Regions from separate parts of the Homo sapiens genome. Here region 2 is linked to region 1. The links are contacts of gene promoters, found by promoter capture Hi-C in human tissues and cell types (Jung and others, 2019). All regions are on one chromosome and are shown on one strand. The core of a region is centred on a gene start or on the middle of the fragment in contact, and the rest is flanking DNA. Distances in the headings are between cores, read along the strand shown.

What was found. Contacts are between HindIII fragments. The study calls those that stand out against the background at their distance.
Region 2: a fragment that was not itself captured here is called in contact with the fragment with the promoter of AMOTL2 in region 1 in 1 of the 25 tissues and cell types used here (hippocampus).

The regions. Positions count from the first base shown.
Region 1 is chr3:134,372,740-134,376,114 of GRCh38, forward strand. It overlaps AMOTL2 (angiomotin like 2), which reads right to left and starts at 1,708. Exons shown (of 10, transcript NM_016201.4): 1 at 1,603-1,708. RefSeq lists enhancers at 968-1,767, 1,768-2,567, 2,568-3,365. The HindIII fragment of the contact is 13,073 bases long and covers 1-3,375 here.
Region 2 is chr3:133,742,052-133,745,426 of GRCh38, forward strand. It overlaps a transcript of TF not described here. Among named protein-coding and RNA genes, the nearest start is that of TF, 2.7 kb to the right of the region's middle. The HindIII fragment of the contact is 3,003 bases long and covers 192-3,194 here.

The DNA of each region.
Region 1 (3,375 bases), core at 458-2,957:
AAAGTGCTGGGAGATTATATCGGAGAAAGGAGTTCCCTTCTAAGCCTGGGCTCCCAGTGGTTCATGGACTGGAAATCTGCCTGCCTCTCTCACCCAGCTTCCTTTCCACAGCCTCTTCCAACACAAATCTCCAAACTGGGATCCAGGGAAAACTAAACAGAATCCACACTGCCACAGGTCCTGTGTGTATGGGCAGGGGTTGGGGGGGTGGGTGGGAGGAATGTGGCCCCTCCTCTGCCACTAAACTAGCCCTAGTGTCCTGCTTCAGTTTGGGCTATGGCATGTTGGCAGAGCAGCCATTCCCGATCTTTTCCCTCTCCCCACCCCAGTACTCCAGCTGCCCAGAGCTGGGGAGTGGGGGATGAGTCTGGAGGGCACCTCTGTACCCATCCTTCCTGGCACCCAGTCATGCGCCCCCCACACACAACGAGGGGTAGATGTGCAAGACTCCAGAGCTACCCGAGGCAAAGCAAGCAAATGGGATTCAATTCGTATGGGATTCAGTTCGCCCTGGAGTTTTATCTGCGGGCATTTCCTATGATAATCACTCTCTGGGCCGACTCCCACAGAGAAGGCAGGGGAGCGGCAGGAAGGAATGCGGAGCCTTCCTGACAGATTCCAGGCGCTCCATAGTGTGCCCGGACTGGGAGCAAGGAACATCTCCAAGGCCTCTCATCGCGAATTTGTCCCGGCCAAGCCCCTCAGATTCACGTCCTTTCAGACATCAAACGCCTGGGCCTTTACAAAAACCTGCTTCCGCGCCCCCGGCCGCGAACCTCTGCTGCACTCGCCCGCTGCGCTCTCTGAAGGCCGCCTTTCTAAGCCAGCGCGCGTCTCCAGCCTTGGCCTGGGCTCCTGCTCGCCTAAGGAACCAAAGACAGTCTCCAAGCTAGGAGGTTCTGGCACCCCAGCCAGGGCTCCCGCCCCACCACGAGCCCGGGCGGACCTGGAGCACCGGTGGCCGCTGGTACGCCTGGGGCGAGCCGGTGAGGGTAGCCCGAGGCCCGGAGAGGTCTTTAAGCATCGCGGGTCCGCCTCCCTCCCTCTCGAGCCCTCTTTGTTTTCCAAATACTCTAACGCTGACGTCACCGGGCTGGACAGCAGGCTGCATTCTTTCTAAGTGAGGGCCAATTCGTGGCTCCAGAGAGGATTTTCCAAGGAAGACAAAGAGGAATTCTTGGACTAGTTGGGGGCAAAGGCACCTGTAACCCCCACCTAACCAAATCAGCCCGCAGGACCCTGCAACTTGAGCTCCAAGCGGCGCCTCCATCCCTGTCCCCCGCCACCCCCACCCCCGCCGACCTGCAACCCGAAACACTGTGGCTGTTGTCTCCGGAGTCGGCCCTCTCCCCTCTCCCCCAGCCCCAAGAGACCCGCGCGTTTCTAGAGCCCCGCAAAGCCCAGCGCGCTGCGCTCCCTGGGCAGAGCGGCCCTTGCCAGGCACTGCGGCTGCCTCGAAAGGGCGCACTGCGCCCCGAGGACGCTCGATCCTCGAGGCTCCGACTCCCGGAAAAGGCCGGGTTGCGCCGAGACTCCAGCTTTGGCTGGGGCACGTTTCTGTGGCCTCGCGCGCTCTCCCGAGCGCCGAGCGGCCTTCCTTACCGCTGCGGCCCGAGGGTGCCCAGCGCAGTCAGACACCACAACCTCCGGCTCGGCCCAGCTCAGCTCGGCGGCGAAGATGTGTTCTCGGCCGTGGCGCCGACGCTCTGGCTGTTCGCGCCCCAGCGCGCAGCCCCAGGGTCGGCCCGCGCCGGAGGCGGCTGCTATGCCAGGAATGTGAGAGTTTCAGGTTCCCCCTCGGGATCAAAGCGAACCACAAATAACCTCTCAGCGCACCGCCCTCCTCCGCCCTCCGCCTTCTCCCGCTCCCTCCTCCCGGCCCCCGCCTTCCTCCGGGGAGGCGGCGCTGCTGGCCGAGCGCCGGCCCGGCCCCCGAGCTCCGTTCCTCCGCGCCCAGCGCCCTCCAGGCCGCGGTGTGTCCGCCCCTGCCCCATGCTTTGCCTTCGGAGCTGCTGGAGACAATTTAATCCAACTCTGCCCATTATCGCCTCCACTCCCAGTCGCCGACCCGCTCTCACCCTTCATCCCTAAACCCATCGACGGGACGACAGCAAGGGCTGTACCACGCGTGTCCTGGGGTTGCTGCGGGAGGGGACTCCGGCTGTGTGTGTGTGTGTGTGTGTGTGTGCGTGTGTGTGTACCGGGGGAGGTGGGAAAGGGAGGAGGGACTGCAAAGACATCCATATCCTCTGGGCTGGGACAGTGCCCCGGGCTAAGTGAATGCTTCCAGCCACAGAGCCTCTTTCCCCTAACCCCCGCTGTTTTCACCCCCAGCGGCAACCTTTGAATGCACTTTTGTTTACAAACACCTTCGCCAGCTATTTTACGACCGTCTCGACAGGAAGTGTGAATCTGGGTTGGAAAATCCGGTCAATTTGACCCACCTACCCAACTGAATCACCCGCCGCCAGGCGCTCTGTCCAGTTCTTCCCCAAGGTGATAATAGGCGCCCCTTTACGCAGAGTGCAAGGTGTGCCACCGCTGGCTTTTCGCCCAGTCATCCGATTCAGCCCTGCCAAGCACCCTCCAACGGAGTTCTGTTATCATCCCTGTGTTGTAAATGAGGACACCAGGGCTCAGAGAGCTTAAGCAGCGTGCCCAGAGTCACACACAGTGAGAACCAGGTAATCAACCACTGGGCTGCTTGGTTTCTCATTCTCAAAACCCCTCCCTGGCTATCAGAATCCAGGCTCCCTAGATGGACAGGGCAGACACTGGGAGCCCTCCTCTCTCCACTTACCCTGTCCTTGCTTTAGTCTCTTCTTTACCTCCCCCTACACCCCTGCCAGCCAGGGGCTTTCCCCTGTACCCACTTCTGTGGCTCCTGCATGGAATCCTCTCCTCTGCCCCCAGGACACTTCCACTGCTAGATGGAAACCCCTTCTTCAGAAAGCTCGCTCTGACACATGCTGTCCCCGTTCCCCATCACACAAGCCCTCTCTACAAGTCAGTTGGGGTGAGGTGGGGGCAGTCAGGCCCCTGTCCACCCAGAGAGTCAGGGCTGATTTCTACCCCTGGCTGGGTCCTCCCATCAGCATGGAGTTTGCAAGTCCCAAATTCACTGGAGGGAAACAAGGACAAGGAAATTCTGCAAGCTTAATTGCCAGGGACATTGTTAATTTTTAATAAAACTCACAAAAAGTGTGTGTGTGTGTGCGCACGTGTGTGTTTTACTTGGAAGTCAAATACTGTGTTTCAAACAGTGATTGGATCTGAGATGATTGAGCAAATGGATCATTTGTGCCAAGCTACGGGATATTTGTCTTTCCAAGGATCCCCTTACGAAGAGAAGCTGTGATCAGTATACCACTGTAG
Region 2 (3,375 bases), core at 443-2,942, 630 kb before region 1:
TGGTTCACTGCAGCCTTGAACTCCTGGGCTCAAGCAATCCTCTTACCTTAGCCTCTTGGGTAGCTGGCACTACAGGTGCATGCCACTGTGTCCAGCTGATTTAAATTTTTTGTAGAGACGAGTTCTCACTATATTGCCCAGGCTGGTCTTGAACTCGTGAGCTCAAGCAATCCTCCTGCCTCAGGCTTCCAAAGCCCTAGGATTACAGGCATGAGCCACCACCCCCACGCTGTAATTCTTAAATGTTTGATGGAATTCATTCCACCTGGCCCTGGACTATTCTTCATGAGACAGGTATTTTTGCAGACTCCCCTGTGAAAAGAATGGAAACCTTGAGAATCTTCATTGTCCAAGGACTTCTGAGAGGTAGAACAGAGATAGAGAAAGGGAAAGAGAAGGAGAGAGAGAGAGAGAAAGAGAGAGAGAGTGAGAGCGAGTGAGCAGTGGTGTCATGTGGCATTTCAAAATGCCTGGCATTTTCCTAAAAGTACCCTGCCCAGTCCCCAACCCCCTAGCCATACAGCCCGACCCAGCGGGCTTGCAGGGTGACTGATTTCGTGAATGTCGGTTCTCAGGCTGCCAGGCTGCTGCTTCTCAAGGATGACCCAGACTTAGAGAAGTCTCTGGTGTCAGGCAGAGGACACTGGGTGGGGGACAGGAGGAACTGCTCAAAACAGACAGAGGCTCTTTGTTTGCTTTGCTTCTGTGTCAACTGGGCAACATTTGGAAACAACAAATATTGGTTCAGAGGCCCACTGCTTTCTTACCCACCTCCTGCTGGTCAGCTTTTCCAGCTTTCCTGCACGTACACACAAGCGCAGCTATTTCTTTAAGGGCCAACTCGTGGTTGAAATTTGAGAGTTTTGCCCTGTTTGCGGTGAAAGATTTGGCTCATGCTTGGGTTGGTCTAGAACTGGAAGCTTCCTTTATGTCCTCTATCAATCTCTTTCTCTTTCTCTTTCTCTCTCACCTCCCTCCCTCTCTTTCCTCCCCCACTAAATAAATAAAGAGAAGGTCAATATCAAGAAGGCAGCTGTGGTCTGGAGAAGGGCAAGATTTAGGAAGTTTGAGTTCAGGTCTCAGAGCTCCATGAATAAGGACCCATCATTTGACTGTAATGACCACATGTGATAAATGGAGGTACTGATCTTATCTTGCATGGCTGCCCCAATGATCTTGCCCCAGGACAGTGCCTGACACATACAAGGGGATAAAAACATGATATTTTCTTCCAGCTGAGCATAATCAAGCCAGTCCATGTCTAAGGATCTGCAGTTGGTACTCAGACCTCTCCCAGACTGACCAGCCCCTGTGCTGGCAAAGCCCTGGGGGCTGTGTGCTTTTGGAGAAATGGCAAGGCTGGGAGTCTCATGTCTGTCCCTCTCTCGGTGTGACCCCAGATGAGCTCCTTGGCCCCTGCATGTCCTGGTTTCCTGGGAGAGGCAGTGTCCCTGGTGGATGTGTACACTCTGGAACCAGACTGCCTTCTTTTGTATTCTGACTTTGCAGCTGACCTTGAACAAGATATCATCCTCTCTTGTCCTCAGTTTCCTTGTCTCATCTGTAAGATACAGATGCTAAAGCACCAAAGTCAGAGGGGTATGGTAAGTGCTCAGTGAAGCTCCCAGTAAATCTCAGCCATCATTAAGCTATTAAAAGGGACAGTGATTCTCCAACTCCAGAACATCTCTGGTATAGAATTAAAGAATATAAATGAGAGCACAGGTACAAGTGTCATGGACATGGAGCGCTGTAATGTTAACCTCTTACCTTCACATGCTCCTATAGACATATACAGGCATAGGCACCCCATACAGCTAGGGCCATGCACACATGTACACCCCAAAGCTGGCCTCACCCCTGCCTACCCCATCCAAGGAATGGCAAGCACGAAGCTCTGCTGTTGTCCTCTTGAGCAAAAGCCAAGGCCCTGGCCTCTCCATCTAGGTGTGTGTAGATGACGTGGGAGCACCAGTTCTCTATGTCTTGTCTGAGCTTCCTTCATATCCCATGAGGCTGTATATTTCCTTCCCAGCACCTGTCTTGGGCTTGGACTCAAAGGACCCTTCTGAGGACAGGGCATAGAGCTGGCTGCTCTGGAGAGGACTCAGCCTGGCCAGTAGGTAGTTGCTCCCTGCTGAGGGGCTCTGGCTAGGCTATGGGCCTGTGGCTGGAGGACTGGCCTCAGCGGGGCTTAGTCTACGAATGTAGATGGGCTCCAGAAAAGGAGAATCACTGACCATCTTCTTTCCATGCCCTGCGTTGAGCTTCCCTGAGTTTGTGGCATGGGCTCAACCTTTCGTAACTGCACTTCCTGCTCTCTGGCAGACCCTGCAAGCTTACTACAGGGCCTGTCCATGCATCAGCTGTATGTGTGCATGCTGCTCTGCTGGGTGCCTTCCAGTTAGCCTTGCCCCTGACTTTTCCTGCTCATCTCACATCCTTACCTCAAGGTCTCCAAATGAATCCAGACCACTGCCTAGAGCCTGCTGCAGGGGCAGTAGGAATATGGCCCTCATGCTAACAGTCTTCTTTCCCTATGGCTCAAGCACAAGGGGCCCGTGGACGGGCAAGGGGGGAGTAAGACAGGGCAGCAGTGGTCACTCTCCCTCGCTGGTGAGGCTGATGTGTTGGGAAAGCCAGACTTGACTTCTGTCCTCACTGTAAACAGAAAGCTTCTGTAGTGGACTCTAAAGTGGGAGGTATGTAACCCCTTTGCATATGAGATAATCTTTTGGAGTGTGGGAGAACATAATCTAACTTCCAGTTATATTTATTGTTATTGCAAAAGATTAACAAATTATCATTCATTCATATTGAATGTGTGAATTGGCCCTATCTCCCACCTGAGTCTGCAGTCATGACAGATGGAGCCTTTCAGGTGTCCTAAGGGAAGATGGGGTTCACCTCACAATGCTAAAGGTGAAAAGGGGAGTGCCGACCCTGCCCTTTGTTTTGGCATTTTTATTTCCATACTTTGTGGTTTGTATGTGCCCAGTTAAACGGATGTACAGATTAGATAATCTGGCTTTAACTCCAACCTTCACGAGATGCACACATGCCTTAAAAAGATTCTTACAAAGAAACTAGAATTAGGAGACAATTCTGACAACACAAAAACAAGTGAACAAAAATCAAATGACTGACCTGACGTGTCCACTAGGCTTGATATGAGCTTGGTCAACTAAAACATGAGACAGAATGAATGACCATCTGGTCAGGTTGGATAAGAAGTAACTTTTGGCAAAATCTCTGAAGTCTGGATTTACACTTCGTGGAAGGAATCTTGACCTTTCCCCAAGTATATTATGCCTTGAGATAATAATCCTGTATAAGGCCGCATAAGCAAAACGACATTTGAAAATGAGTTTCATC